5 separate regions of the Homo sapiens genome follow, and regions 2, 3, 4 and 5 are each linked to region 1. Evidence: promoter capture Hi-C in 16 types of primary human blood cells and fetal thymus (Javierre and others, 2016). All regions are on one chromosome and are shown on one strand. Each heading gives the region's core, a stretch centred on a gene start or on the middle of the fragment in contact. The rest is flanking DNA. Distances are from core to core; before and after follow the strand shown.

The links. Contacts are between HindIII fragments. The CHiCAGO score rates a contact against its expected background, and 5 or more counts as called.
Region 2: a fragment that was not itself captured here is called in contact with the fragment with the promoter of ZFP3 in region 1 in 2 of 17 cell types (total B cells and naive B cells); the score reaches 6.7 in total B cells.
Region 3: the fragment with the promoter of C1QBP here is called in contact with the fragment with the promoter of ZFP3 in region 1 in 1 of 17 cell types (naive B cells); the score reaches 5.6 in naive B cells.
Region 4: a contact is called between a fragment that was not itself captured here and the fragment with the promoter of ZFP3 in region 1, in 1 of 17 cell types (naive B cells). The highest score is 5.5, in naive B cells.
Region 5: a contact is called between a fragment that was not itself captured here and the fragment with the promoter of ZFP3 in region 1, in 2 of 17 cell types (total B cells and naive B cells). The highest score is 6.7, in total B cells.

Annotation. Positions count from the first base shown.
Region 1 is chr17:5,077,213-5,079,725 of GRCh38, forward strand. ZFP3 (ZFP3 zinc finger protein) reads left to right here and starts at 1,255. Exons shown (of 2, transcript NM_153018.3): 1 at 1,255-1,363. It overlaps ZFP3-DT (ZFP3 divergent transcript), which reads right to left and starts at 901. Exons shown (of 2, transcript NR_186458.1): 1 at 675-901. RefSeq lists enhancers at 723-1,594, 962-1,031. The HindIII fragment of the contact is 11,376 bases long and covers 590-2,513 here.
Region 2 is chr17:5,456,290-5,458,802 of GRCh38, forward strand. All of the region lies in intron 4 of DHX33 (DEAH-box helicase 33), which reads right to left. Among named protein-coding and RNA genes, the nearest start is that of DHX33, 11 kb to the right of the region's middle. The HindIII fragment of the contact is 1,608 bases long and covers 454-2,061 here.
Region 3 is chr17:5,437,902-5,440,414 of GRCh38, forward strand. C1QBP (complement C1q binding protein) reads right to left here and starts at 1,254. Exons shown (of 6, transcript NM_001212.4): 1 at 941-1,254; 2 at 222-372. The coding sequence starts at 1,172. RefSeq lists silencers at 921-970, 1,081-1,250, 1,229-1,411 and an enhancer at 1,471-1,650. The HindIII fragment of the contact is 1,457 bases long and covers 362-1,818 here.
Region 4 is chr17:5,408,365-5,410,877 of GRCh38, forward strand. It overlaps NUP88 (nucleoporin 88), which reads right to left. Exons shown (of 17, transcript NM_002532.6): 4 at 2,339-2,425; 5 at 369-545. Among named protein-coding and RNA genes, the nearest start is that of NUP88, 10 kb to the right of the region's middle. The HindIII fragment of the contact is 2,979 bases long and covers 1-2,513 here.
Region 5 is chr17:5,359,204-5,361,716 of GRCh38, forward strand. It overlaps RABEP1 (rabaptin, RAB GTPase binding effector protein 1), which reads left to right. Exons shown (of 18, transcript NM_004703.6): 9 at 2,005-2,472. It overlaps LOC105371505 (a long non-coding RNA gene), which reads right to left. Exons shown (of 2, transcript XR_934178.3): 1 at 2,482-2,513; 2 at 1,404-1,881. Among named protein-coding and RNA genes, the nearest start is that of NUP88, 59 kb to the right of the region's middle. The HindIII fragment of the contact is 1,820 bases long and covers 349-2,168 here.

The DNA of each region.
Region 1 (2,513 bases), core at 5-2,504:
CCTGACCAACATGGTGAAACCCCGTCTCTACTAAAAATACAAAAATTAGCCGGGCGTGGTGGCTGGCACTTGTAATCCCAGCTACTCTGGAGGCTGAGGCTGGAGAATCGCTTGAACCCGGGAGGTGGAGGTTGCAGTGAGCAGAGATCGTGCCATTGCACTCCAGCCTTGGCGACAAGAGCGAAACTCCGCCTCAAAAAACAAACAAAAACAAGCTGGAGGCCGGGCGCGGTGGCTCATGTCTGTAATCCCAGCACTTTGGGAGGCCGAGGCGGCCGGATCACCTGAGGTCGGGAGTTCGAGACCAGCCTGACCAAAATGGAGAAAACCCGTCTCTACCTAAAATACAAAATTAGCCGGGCGTGGTGGCACATGCTTGTAATCCCAGTTACTCGGGGAGGCTGAAGTAGGAGAATCGCTTGAATCCGGGAGGCGGAGGTTGCGGTGAGCGGAGATGGCGCCATCGCACTCCAGCCTGGACAACAAGAGCGAAACTCCATCTCAAAAAACAAACAAACAAGAAAACAAGCTGGCTGTGCAAAATTACAGAGGAAGTAACAAGGAAAGGTTCTGAGGTGAGAATGGGCCAAGCTTGCTCAGGGAACCCAGGAAGGCTAGCTGCAGAATGCTGTTTCCGTGGCCTCGGCAGCTTAACCTAGGCCTTTACTCTTAACCTTGGTAATTCCCACGCAATCTTGAGATTTCAGGCCAAACGTCACTCCTGCAAGCCCTTCCGGAACTCAAAGCATGTCTCCCTTCGCTCCCGCCGAGGAGAGACCTGTTCCCAGGATCTGCAGCCCTGTGCTTATCAGACCCACGGAGTCTGTGGAAAGGAAGGATGGGATAAGAACGATGCGGGTTGGGAGAGTTAAAAGGGTCGCGCAAACGGTCCCCGCGGGAATGCGAAGCGGATTCTCGAGTTCTTGAGCCTAGAGCAATGCTTGGGGAGCGACACGAGGGCGCAGAGCGGCAGATCGCGGAGCGGAAGTTCATCCCCGGAGCCGTTCTAGGAAACCCGGAGGACTCAGGTCGTCAATGATTCCGGGGCTGAAGTGGGCATCGACGGGTGCACTTTGCTGTTCCAGGGAGCCGGCTCGGCAGGCGGCGGCGACGTGGAACTTGGGCTAGGGCTAGAACCGGCGAAAAGCAAGCCGGAAAAGGCAAGGGGGCGTCGGTGCGCTGACCACCTGTTCCTCCAGCGGAGTGCGACGCGCGCCGATTGGCTGGAGTGCCGCCCGGGTACCGGAAGTGGCCGATGCCCGTCGCCAGTGACACCGGGACAACAGCTGCGGGCTCTGTGCGAGCGGCCCAGCAGCGCGGAGCCTCAGCGGAGTGAGCGAGCGCGGGGCAGTAGCGGCCTGCGGTGAGACCTCATTCCGTCGCGGCTGTGGGGGTAGGCGGGGGCTGGGCTCCCAGCTCCCTAGAGAGCCGAGCGGAAACCCTACGTTTAGGCCCGTTCTGACCGGGGTTCGCTGTGTGACCTTGAAGTTTATGCCTCCCTCCATTCCCCCCGCCCCCAGGCCTTCATTTCCACCTGCACACAGAGAGGGTGGGGCCTGGACACCGCCAGGGACAGTCCCAGCTCTGGTTTGGTGCCTGTCAGCCGTGGGGGTGGGAGAAGCAGGGACACTCCCTTCTGTACCGAGGTGGGGACCCGTGGGAGCTGTGGTTTTCTCAGACATTCCACCCCCAAGTAAACCGCTAGGACGAAATGGCGGGCAGTGTCACAAACTTAACGCCCTAGTGGCAGATTGTGCCCTGTGCTGCCAGACAAGATATTGGCTTATGAGGGGTGGTCGTGAAAAGGAGACAGGTTTGAGCTGCAAAGATAGAGCCCTATTGTGGGTCAGAGGGAGAAGAGAGGAAAGGAGGTTAACAGTGCCATAAATTAAATATCACCCAGATTGGGAAAAGGAACTTATTTTTACAAACAGTTATCGACACCAGCTATGTGTCAGACACTATCCTAGGCTCTTTAGATATAATGATGAATGAAATATCCAGTTAGCCATCAAGAGTATTACAGAGGCTGGGTGCAGTGGCTCATGCCTGTAATCCCAGCATTTTGGGAGGCCTAGGCGGGAGGATCACTTGAGCACAGGAGTTCAAGACCAGCCTGGGCAACATAGTGAGACACCATCTGTACAAAAAACAAAGAAATTAGTTGGGTAGTTGGGTGTGGTGGCGCATGCTTGTAGTCCCAGCTACTTGGGAGGCTGAGGTGGGAGGATTTTCTTGAGCCTGGGAAGTTGAAGCTGCAGTGAGTCTGGGCAATAGAGCCAAGACCCTGTCTCAGAAAAAAGGGAGGTATTGCAGATTCATTATATATATAAGACAGTTACACAAATTCACTTAACATTTACCAGGTATCTGAAATATGCTAGGTACTCAGAATACCAGGATGAATGGAACAGCATCCTTGCTTATGGTCTAGAGAAGAAAATAGGTATGAAAAATTAATAATGCAGTGGGGTAGCTGCTACAAGGTGAAGGAGTAGCTGTCTGCCTTAGAG
Region 2 (2,513 bases), core at 8-2,507, 380 kb after region 1:
TAGAAATGTAAATGAGCCTAAAAGTTGATGTCTAGCTTGGAGAGAACCCTTACCAGCAGTGTGTAAATGGTAACAGGCTGGGTGTGATGGCTCACGCCTGTAAACCCAGCACTTTGGGAGGCTGAGGCGGGAGGATCGTTTGCAGCCAGGAGTTTGTGACCAGCCTGGGCAACGCAGCAAGATCCCATCTCTACAAAACACTTTTTTTTAAATTGGTCAGGGGTGGTGACACATGCCTATAGTTCCAGCTGCTTGCCACTCCACTCCAGCCTGGGCGACAGAACGAGAACCTGACTCAAAAACACAAAAAACAAAACTGTAATATATAGGAGTTAGCCAGCTATGTTTATAGGCCAAGTGATGAAATTTTGAAGGGAAATCATCAGATTGATTTTTCTAACAAGAACAATACCATGAAAAGCATAATCAGGCAAGCAAATAAAATCTGCATGAAGCTTCCTTTCTTTTATAAGCATCTTGAAAAATGAAGTTGACAAAACAGAAGGAAACTTGGGGAAATCCTAATCTATGGAAATGAACAGGCGCAGCCATGCTGGAGAAGGAGCCTTTAATGAATGACGCCGTCGAAAGCGCTTTCACACGCCCCAAAACACACACTATACTCGGACAACTGCTTGAGATACTGAGGTTAATGGGGTTCCTCACTTTCAAATGGAACAACACCCAAGTGTGAATGACATACCTAATGCCCTGATTTTTCTTTGATTTCTGATCAGATACATTAATTTGTTTGATGTAAAGTGCTTAACACTTTGGGAGGCCGAGGCGGCCAGATCACCTGAGGTCAGGAGTTCGAGACCAGCTTGACCAACATGGTGAAACCCTGTCTCTACTAAAAATACAAAAAATTAGCCAGGCGTGGTGGCGCACGCCTGTAATCCCAGCTACTCAGGAGGCTGAGGCAGGAGAATCACTTGAACATGGGAGGCGGAGGTTGCAGTGAGCCGAGATTGCATCACTGCACTCCAACCTGGGCGACAGAGCAAGACTCCATCTCAAAAAATAAATAAATAAAATGAAGTGCTTGATGGACTGGGCGCAGTGGCTCATGCCTGTAACCCCAGCACTTTGGGAGGCTGAGGCAGGCAAATGGGTTGAGGTCAGCAGTTTGAGACCAGCCTGTCCAACACAGTGAAATCCCATCTCTATTAAAAATACAAAAGTTAGCTAGGTGTGATCCCAGATACTCAGGAGGCTGAGGCACAAGAATCACTTGGACCTGGGAGGTAGAGGTTGCAGTGAGCCGAGCTCGTGTCACTGCACTCCAGCCTGGGCGACACAGTGAGACTCCATCTCAAAAAAAAAAAAAAAAAGTGCCTAATGGCAAAATAAATAGAAAAAAATTTTAATAATTATATGTATATTTATGTATATATGTAAAAATACGTATTTTTTAATATGTATTTTTTTTCAGCCCAGTATTAACAGAACAAATGTGCAGAGGGATACACAGACAGGATAAAATCTAAAACAGTCAAAACCTCATGAGTGGGAGAATTCATCAAAGCCAGTGGTAACCTAATGCACCAGCAGCCATCATTCATGAAAAATTCTCGTTTGCTTTCTGCAGCTGAACAAGGCAGACTTCTTCCCCAAACACTATGAAAACGACAGTAAAGGCCACTGTCTTAGAAAGAAAAGGCAATGAGAGATGAGGAGTCTCAACTCATTTTGGAAGAGAGGGGAAAGGGGCTGGATGACTTGGCTAGAGGGAGGAAACTACAAATTATGTTGTGGGAGAGTGAAAACTCAGGGATTGGTTCAAAGTCTGAGTATAGAGTAGTTAAAGCCTTCAGTTCCCTCTCCTACCCAGGACGGCCAGGAGACTGGGAAGCCATGGGTCTCACCACGGGAAAATGGTGACAAAGTGAAGAGTCAAGATGACAGCTGCACAAAGGCCCAGGAGAGCCACCTGCCCCAACTGGAACAGCAGCATAAAGGACTCTGAAAAGACAGACTGTGCTTGAACACAGAACTATACACGACTGGCATATGAGATGTTGGAATATTTGGGAGAAAATGAGCCAGAGCTACCCAGAAAGCTTGCACAACTGTGTTGTTCAAGAAACAAGGTACAGGGATGATGGTGTGCTACTAGCAATGTGTGGTCATAATATTCTTAGTATTGATACTGGACTCAGAAAACATCATAATAGGCCAGACACAGGTGTGCAAGCATGTAGTCCTAGCTACTCCCAATGCTGAGGTGGGAGGACTGATTGAGCCCGGGAGTTCACGACCAGCCTGGGCAACACAGCAAGATCCTGCCTCAAAAACAAAAACCTAAACAAAAACATGATAGAACTGTCAAGAGGTTGGAGATAAAGGGGGTTGGGGAGGGGCATTCTAAACTTTTGTCACCATGGTAAGAAATTAGCATATGATGCCTGATACCCATAACTCAAAAAATAGTGGTCAAAGCAAGGTAGTTTAGAAACATGAAAGCAATATGTAGAGATTGAAAGTAGGTGCCCTAAACAGCAGAAATCTGG
Region 3 (2,513 bases), core at 4-2,503, 360 kb after region 1:
ACTACATTTTTGTCTCCTTAGTAACCAGCCCACAGCAAATTTGTGTTCGGTGAATGGACTGCCTGGGGCTTACGAAGTTGTCCAAATGAATCCTTCACTCTCTTGAAACCCATTTATCAAAGTATCCACACCTGAACTCAAGGCTCTTCTGGGGATGACCCAGGATGGGTCCTGCAAGGTTAAGGGAGTTGCTGCCCTGGGATCCCCAGACCAGTACTTACTTTTCCCCGGCAACTTTCCGCACTAATTTCGCTTCTGTCCCATTCAGTTCCAGCTCCCAACCTCCAGACATCTTAGGGAGGGTTTTATGCTTCTGAATTTTTCTTTCCTCCTTAATTTCATCACTCAGGAAATCAACAAAAGCTTTGTCTCCTAGAAAAGAAATCCAGATACATAAAAAGGAAAGCCAGTTAGTCTAAAACATAAAACTATTACCCAGGTTATTGCAGCCAGAAACCTGGACTGTTTCTAATCTCTCTGCTATTACGGTTACTCTAGAAGCCTGTTTCCTTATCGGTAAAAATACCATAATAGTAGTAGGAAGCTGAGCCTGATTCTGGAAAAGTGATTTCCAACAATGAACGCATTACCACTTTCCGCTATAAACCAGGAGAATTTCCAATCCTCTTCCACTTGCCAAACGATATAACTATGCTATTTTCAACCACGACCATGGGCCTTCCCAAAGGTCCACTTTCGATAGAATAAGACTAAGGAAAAAGGTACCCTAGTATTTAATTTTATTCACCCCCTACCAAAAGAAAACGAAACTGCTGGATAGGGGAGGTGGGGGAAATATGATCATACGTGGGTTTAGCCCGCTGGTTGCCAATCAATGGAAAAATGTCCCAGACCTCAGAGGTCGGTTGCAGGCCCTATTCCTGGTCTACGTTTTCCCTCTGTTGAACGCAAACCACACCCCCGGCCCGCTAAACCTCACCGTCGGTGTGCAGCGAGCCGCAGCCACAGCCACAGGCGCAGGGTCCGCGAGGCCGCAGGAGGCCCGGCCGCCGCTCGGAACCTGCGCGCACGCTGAGCAGCCCGAAGGGCCGGGTGCACAGCCGGGGTGCCGGCTGCAGGAGCTGCCGGAAAGGCGAGGCGGGCGCGGCAGCGCGGAGGCCGGCGACGGAGGAGCCCAGCACACGGGGCACGCAGCGCAGCAGAGGCAGCATCGCGGAAACGACTGCGAACACGTGCAGATGCAAAGGACAACCCAGGCCTAGGCGCCCCGCGACCTGAGGCGCCGCCGGAAGCCCCGCCCCTGCCCGGAAGCGCTTCCCGCGCCGGCGCTCTGACGACCTAAGGCCAGCGGGCGGAATCGCGCCCTCTGCTGGAGACTCCGGTGCAGCCCGGGAAGCCTCGAATCCGGATTCCGGAGCTTTCTTGCTGCGCTGCCGAGTCCGCTGTCCGAAGCTGTTTAATTCCCTCTAGTGGCCGCTTACCCACTTTCCACCTGCTGTTCTCAAAGCACGCAAGGCTTTTGGGCTGCGTGGAATGCACTCTTGTCTCCCGCCAGCTCTCACCAGACCCTTCCACGGTCACTTTCCTCTAGGAGGCTGTGGTGTTATGATATATATATGTATTGGTTTTCATCCACAGTTCCTGGGTCGTAACTCCTATAGCCCTTGTTACAATGTTCTGTGATAATGTTGGGTGTGTTAGGCCTCAGGAAACAGACTCTCCCCTTCTCCTGCCCTCCTTTTACCTGCCCCAAAGCAGGACTCTAATCTCCTTCCACATTTCTGATTATGGGTCTTAAGTCCCTTCCCAGAGAAGGTCCCACCATATACCCTGGGGGAAGGGATGCTGATGTCCAGAAGCTTCCATAAAAACCCAAGAGGAGAGGGTTTGCAGAGCCTCTGACAGCTGAATACGTAGAGGTTCCTGGAGGGTGGTGGCCCAGGGTAGGCAAGGAACCTCGGAGCTTCTTCCCCATTCCCCACCCTGCTCATCTCATCTGTATCCTTGGTCATATCCTTTATATGAAACCGGTGAATGTGTTTCCCTGAGTTCTGTGAACTGCTCCAGTGAGTTAACATAATCCAAAGAGGGGGGTCGTGGGAACCCCAACTTGAAGCGGGTTGGTCGGAAGTTTCAGAGGCCCAGACTTGCCATTGCTGTCTGAAGGTGGGGGCGGTCTTGGGGACTGAGCCCTCAACCTATGGGATCTGACACTATCTCCAGGTAGATACTGTTGGGATTGAATTGGAGGACACCCAGCTGGTGTCTGCTGCTTAGTGTGGAGGGGAAAAACCCAAACCTTTGGCCACATAAGTCTTCTGTGTTGATTGTTGTGTTGTGAGAGCAAAGGAAAGTCTGAGGGTTTTCCTGAAAGAGGCCTTCTAGAACCTTTTTTTCCACCGGCTCGGAACTCATGCTTGTGCGCACCCAGCCCATATGCTTCATTCTCTTTTCAACAGGAACCTCCTAGCGTTGCTGCTTTAACCAGGTTAAACCCAACCAGACTGTGACATCCTCAAGGGCAGGATCCATGATTAATTTTTGTGACCTTC
Region 4 (2,513 bases), core at 9-2,508, 330 kb after region 1:
TTTTCATGTGTATGTATCTTTCTCCCCACAACTGGGACATAAGATACCAGATTACCACGCCTACGTGGTGTCTTGTTCATATAAGATAAACAATAAGCACTTGTTCGGATAACTAGAATTTGTGAACACAAATCCAGGCCTATCATAAGTGATTATCCAAGAATTCTATAGAACTTACCCAAATAATATGAAGAAATGAAAGGCCAAATGACCTGTACTAACTCTTTCTCAAAAATATGCAAGCCAAGCATGTGAAGGCTGCAACATTTCCACAGACTCAAAAACATGGCTCCCAAGTCCAGCCTCAATGATATCTACTGGAGCCCAAACTGAGTTTTCATTTCAGGTGGGTGACCACCTCAACTTACCTGTGTAACAGACTGATGTATGTCAGGAAAGTCTCTCCATTTTCATATAAGATGTACAGTGGGTATGCCACTACTTCATCTTTGCCGTTTTGTCCAAATAGAGTCTTTGGGACTGCTGCCAATGGCCCAAAGTCAAATGCAACTGCTGTCTCTCCTAGAGATGCGGTATACGCCCTTCTGGAAAGAGATGTAAAAACCAACTTGTTAAAAACAAAAACAACAAAAAGTAAAAAGAAAAACAAAACAAAACAAAAACACAAAATGTCTAATAACAGGAGGTGGGTATGTATGGAATTTGTAGGCAATGGACTGAAAAGACAAAAAATGATTATGAAGAATGTTAACATTTAAAAATTCTCAGCTGGGTGCAGTGGCTCATGCCTGTAATCCCAGCAATTTGGGAGGCCGAGGTGGGTGGATCACCTGAGGTCAGGAGTTCGAGACCAGCCTGGCCAACATGGTGAAACCCCGTTTCTACTAAAAATACAAAAATTAGTTGGGCGTGGTGGCAGGTGCCTGTAGTCCCAGCTACTTGGGAGGCTAAGGCAGGAGAATTGCTTGAACCTGGGAGGCGGAGGTTGCAGTGAGCCGAGATTGTGCCATTGCACTCCAGCCTGGGCGACAAGAGCGAAACTCCGTCTCAAAAAAAAAAAAAAAAAAAAAATTCTCATGAAATTAAGTGAAAAAAGCTGGCCATAAAATTATTTGGTTCTACTCTCATCTTAAATAGTTTAAATACACAGATATACAAATAGCAAAAATTTATTATATACACACACATAAATGCAAAAAGGAAACAGGAAAACACATGAAAACATCAACAGTTGTCTCTGAGCAGCAGGATCCGTAAGTTCTACAAATACTCGCAAAGCACCTACTCTGTGCCAGGTACTTTTCTAGGGTCTGGGAATATGTCAGTGAATTAAACAAATGTCCTGCCCTCTAGAGAGAGAAATACCACAAAAAGAGAAGAAATAAAGATGGAACATAAACTCAGAAAATATCATGAAAAATAAAGTAGGGTAAGAGGGTATTGATGGAGGTGCTACTTTAGACTACTTGGTATAGGAAAGACTCTGATAAGATATTTGAGCAAAGATCTGAAGGAAGTAAGAGAGCAAGTCTGTGGTTAACTAGGGAAGGAGCAGTTGAGGTGGAGAGCAAATGCTCTAAGGTAGAAGTGCTTAATGTCTGTGGAATGGCAAGGAGGCCAAGGTGCCTGGAGCCCAGAGAGCCAGGGCACAGAGGGAGGAATGAAGCTGGAAAGGCAATCAGGTGGCATACCTGTGGACCCTTTATAGGTAAAGACTCTGGGAAATCAATGGGGTATGGAGAGCAGGGAAGTAGAATGATCTGATTAAACTGATCTGATTAAACTTAGATTAAAGTAGAATGATGTGATTAAACTTTGGGTGCTGTATTGAAACAGGCTATAGCTATAGGAGATTACAAAGATTTTCATTTTCTTCCTAATACTTTGATCTATTTTTCTCAATTTTCTACAGCAAATATACATTACATGTATATCAAGAAGGCAAATCATAAAACCATGCTGTTTTTATATTTAAAATTTACTGTAGTTATTCAGGAAGATTCTAGTTCAATACAAAGTTAACAAATATGGTTAAAATGAAATCACAATTTCATATAGTTGAGAGAGCAAACATCAATGCAAGATATTATCTTAGTTTCTTTATCACATAGAAAGGTGATAAAGAAATGAATGGTGGCTCAGGCCTGTAATTCCAGCACTTTGGGGAGGCTGAGACGAGCAGGATCACTTGAGCCTAGGAGTTCCAGACCAGCCTGGCCAACACGACGAATCCCTGTTCTACTAAAAATACACTTACTTCTCACATTACCAAAAGCATGCTAGTCACCTCTGAAAAACCTTGCAACCTGTTAAAATTGCATTTATAATCCCAATAAGCTAATTAAAAAACCATTTCAAGACTCAAATAAAAACTTACCCTTTATTGAGTACTAGACTTTCCTCTTCGGCTTCTGAAAGTATTATCACGTTAGTGGGTGTCTGCGGCTCACGTAGTGAGTAAATTCTAGCAACCAAAAGAGAAGAAAACCAGCACTTAAAATTCTGTTTTCATTTCCCAAAACTGCACTTTCCTCTCCATCTAGTCAGTTCTT
Region 5 (2,513 bases), core at 9-2,508, 280 kb after region 1:
GCTGGGACTACAGGCACCTGCCACCACGCCTGGCTAATTTTTTGTAATTTTTAATAGAGACGGGGTTTCACCATGCTAGCCAGAATGGTCTTGATCTCCTGACCTTGTGATCTGCCCGCCTCGGCCTCCCAAAGTGCTGGGATTACGGGTGTGAGCCACTGCGCCCAGCCAGTCTGATGTTTTTCAAATGGCCCTCACAACTGTTCTATCCCTAGCCCCTTCCCTCTTCAGTATCACAGCAGCACTGTATATGATACATAGCAGTGGGTGTTAGGGTTATTTGTAAACTAACAGAATGGCTTATCCCAGTTTTTATTAGGATACTTACTTGGGATCTTTGCCATAGTAAGCTTAATATATACGAGATTTGTGTTCTTAGCCATTGCAGTTTCAGATGAGTAACAATCTTTAAAAGGAAAGAAATGGAGGCATTAACTCAAAATTTGTCACCTTTTTATTACACCAAGAATATTTTTAAAACATTAAAAAAAATAGGTTACATGAGCTTGCCAGTAACAACAACTGTATTCCACAGTCTCCTCTGGTTCATTTAAAACAGGGCGTTTAACAACAAAACGTAGAAAGGATATTATCTTAAAACATTGTCATTTAAATGGAATAAATTTAGTTGGAAGGAAAACTTGTTACATTTTTCTTTAAATCATTTTTCTTATTTCCCACTAACTATGCAACTGCTTCATGTAATGGCACTGGTTTGCTTTTTGCCTTCAGGAATGTGCTGTACCACGTTGTTTAAAAATTGAGATAAAATTCATGTAACATAAAATTTAAAGTGTACAATTCAGTGGCATTGCATATATACACAAATGTTTTTAGTTTGAAAACATTTTTATCACTCCCAAAGGAGACCTCATAACCCATTAGAGTCACTCGCCATTTTCCCTTTGCCCTAGCCTCTAGTAACCACTAACTTGCTTTATGGCTCTATGGATTTACTTGTTCTGGACATTTTAAATAGATGGAATTACATAATATGTGACTTTTTGCATCTGCTTTCGCATAGTATACAACATTGAACATGTTGATTACACCTTGCTGGAAAATACCACATTCTTGGGCCGGGTGCGGTGGCTCACGCCTGTAATCCCAGCACTTTGGGAGGCTGAGGTCGGGGGATCACGAGGTCAGGAGAGCGAGACCATCCTGGCCAACATGGTGAAACCCCATCTCTACTAAAAATAGAAAACATTAGCCGGGCGAGGTGGCGGGCACCTGTAGTCCCAGCTACTTGGGAGGCTGAGGCAGGAGAATGGCGTGAGCCCGGGAGGCGGAGCTTGCAGTGAGCGGAGATCGCGCCACTGCACTCCAGCCTGGGCGACAGAGCGAGACTCCGTCTCAGAAAAAAAGAAAATACTACGTTCTCGTCATTTCCTTTCCACTACTCTGGCTTCTCCTTTGCTCATCCCCAAGATGTTAATCTTTCTCAGGGTTCTGCCCTTGGCCCTCTTTGCCTACACACTCATCCTACGTGTTCTGATTTGCTGCTGTGACTTTAATTATCATTATACGATAGTTACTCTCAAGTCTCTATCGAAAGACTTCTGTGTCCCTCTGTCAAGGGAATATCTCTGCTTGGATTCATGATAGGCACCTCGCGCTTGACACACGCCACACTGAATTGCAGGTGACGTTCCTCAACTGTTCGTATTTGGGAGCTCTTTGAGCTACCAGAGCATTCAGCACATAGCTCCAGCCCATCCTTTTATCACAGTATTATAACAGTCTGCTTACTTATCTTTTTTTTTTTTGAAGCCGTATGTATCTCGAGGTCAGGGATTATATCTTGCTCACAGTTGTATCCTGAGGGCCTGGTTTTGTGTCCAGCATGTAGAAATGACACTTAGTGTTTGTTCAATGAGTCTGTGAAGGTAGCACATTAATGATTATCATGTGTAATGAGTGGCGGAATACATTTATTATAGTTTTTGTCTTTAAAAACGCAGAGAATTGTCTAACTTGGCCATATGTATTTTCACATTTCAGGAGCATTTAGACAGCACCCGTGGCTCAGTTCATTCCTTAGATGCAGGCTTGCTGTTGCCATCTGGAGATCCTTTCAGTAAATCGGACAATGACATGTTTAAAGATGGACTCAGGAGAGCACAGTCTACAGACAGCTTGGGAACCTCGGGCTCATTGCAATCCAAAGCTTTAGGCTATAACTACAAAGCAAAATCTGCTGGAAACCTGGACGAGTCAGATTTTGGACCACTGGTAGGAGCAGATTCAGTGTCTGAGAACTTTGATACTGCATCCCTTGGGTCACTCCAGATGCCAAGTGGGTTTATGTTAACCAAAGATCAGGAAAGAGCAATCAAGGCGATGACACCAGAACAAGAAGAGACAGCGTCCCTCCTCTCCAGCGTTACCCAGGGCATGGAGAGTGCCTATGTGTCCCCTAGTGGTTATCGTTTAGTTAGTGAAACAGAATGGAATCTCTTGCAGAAAGAGGTGAGTTACCTTTCTCACGTTTTTCCTCTTGCTCACGCTGA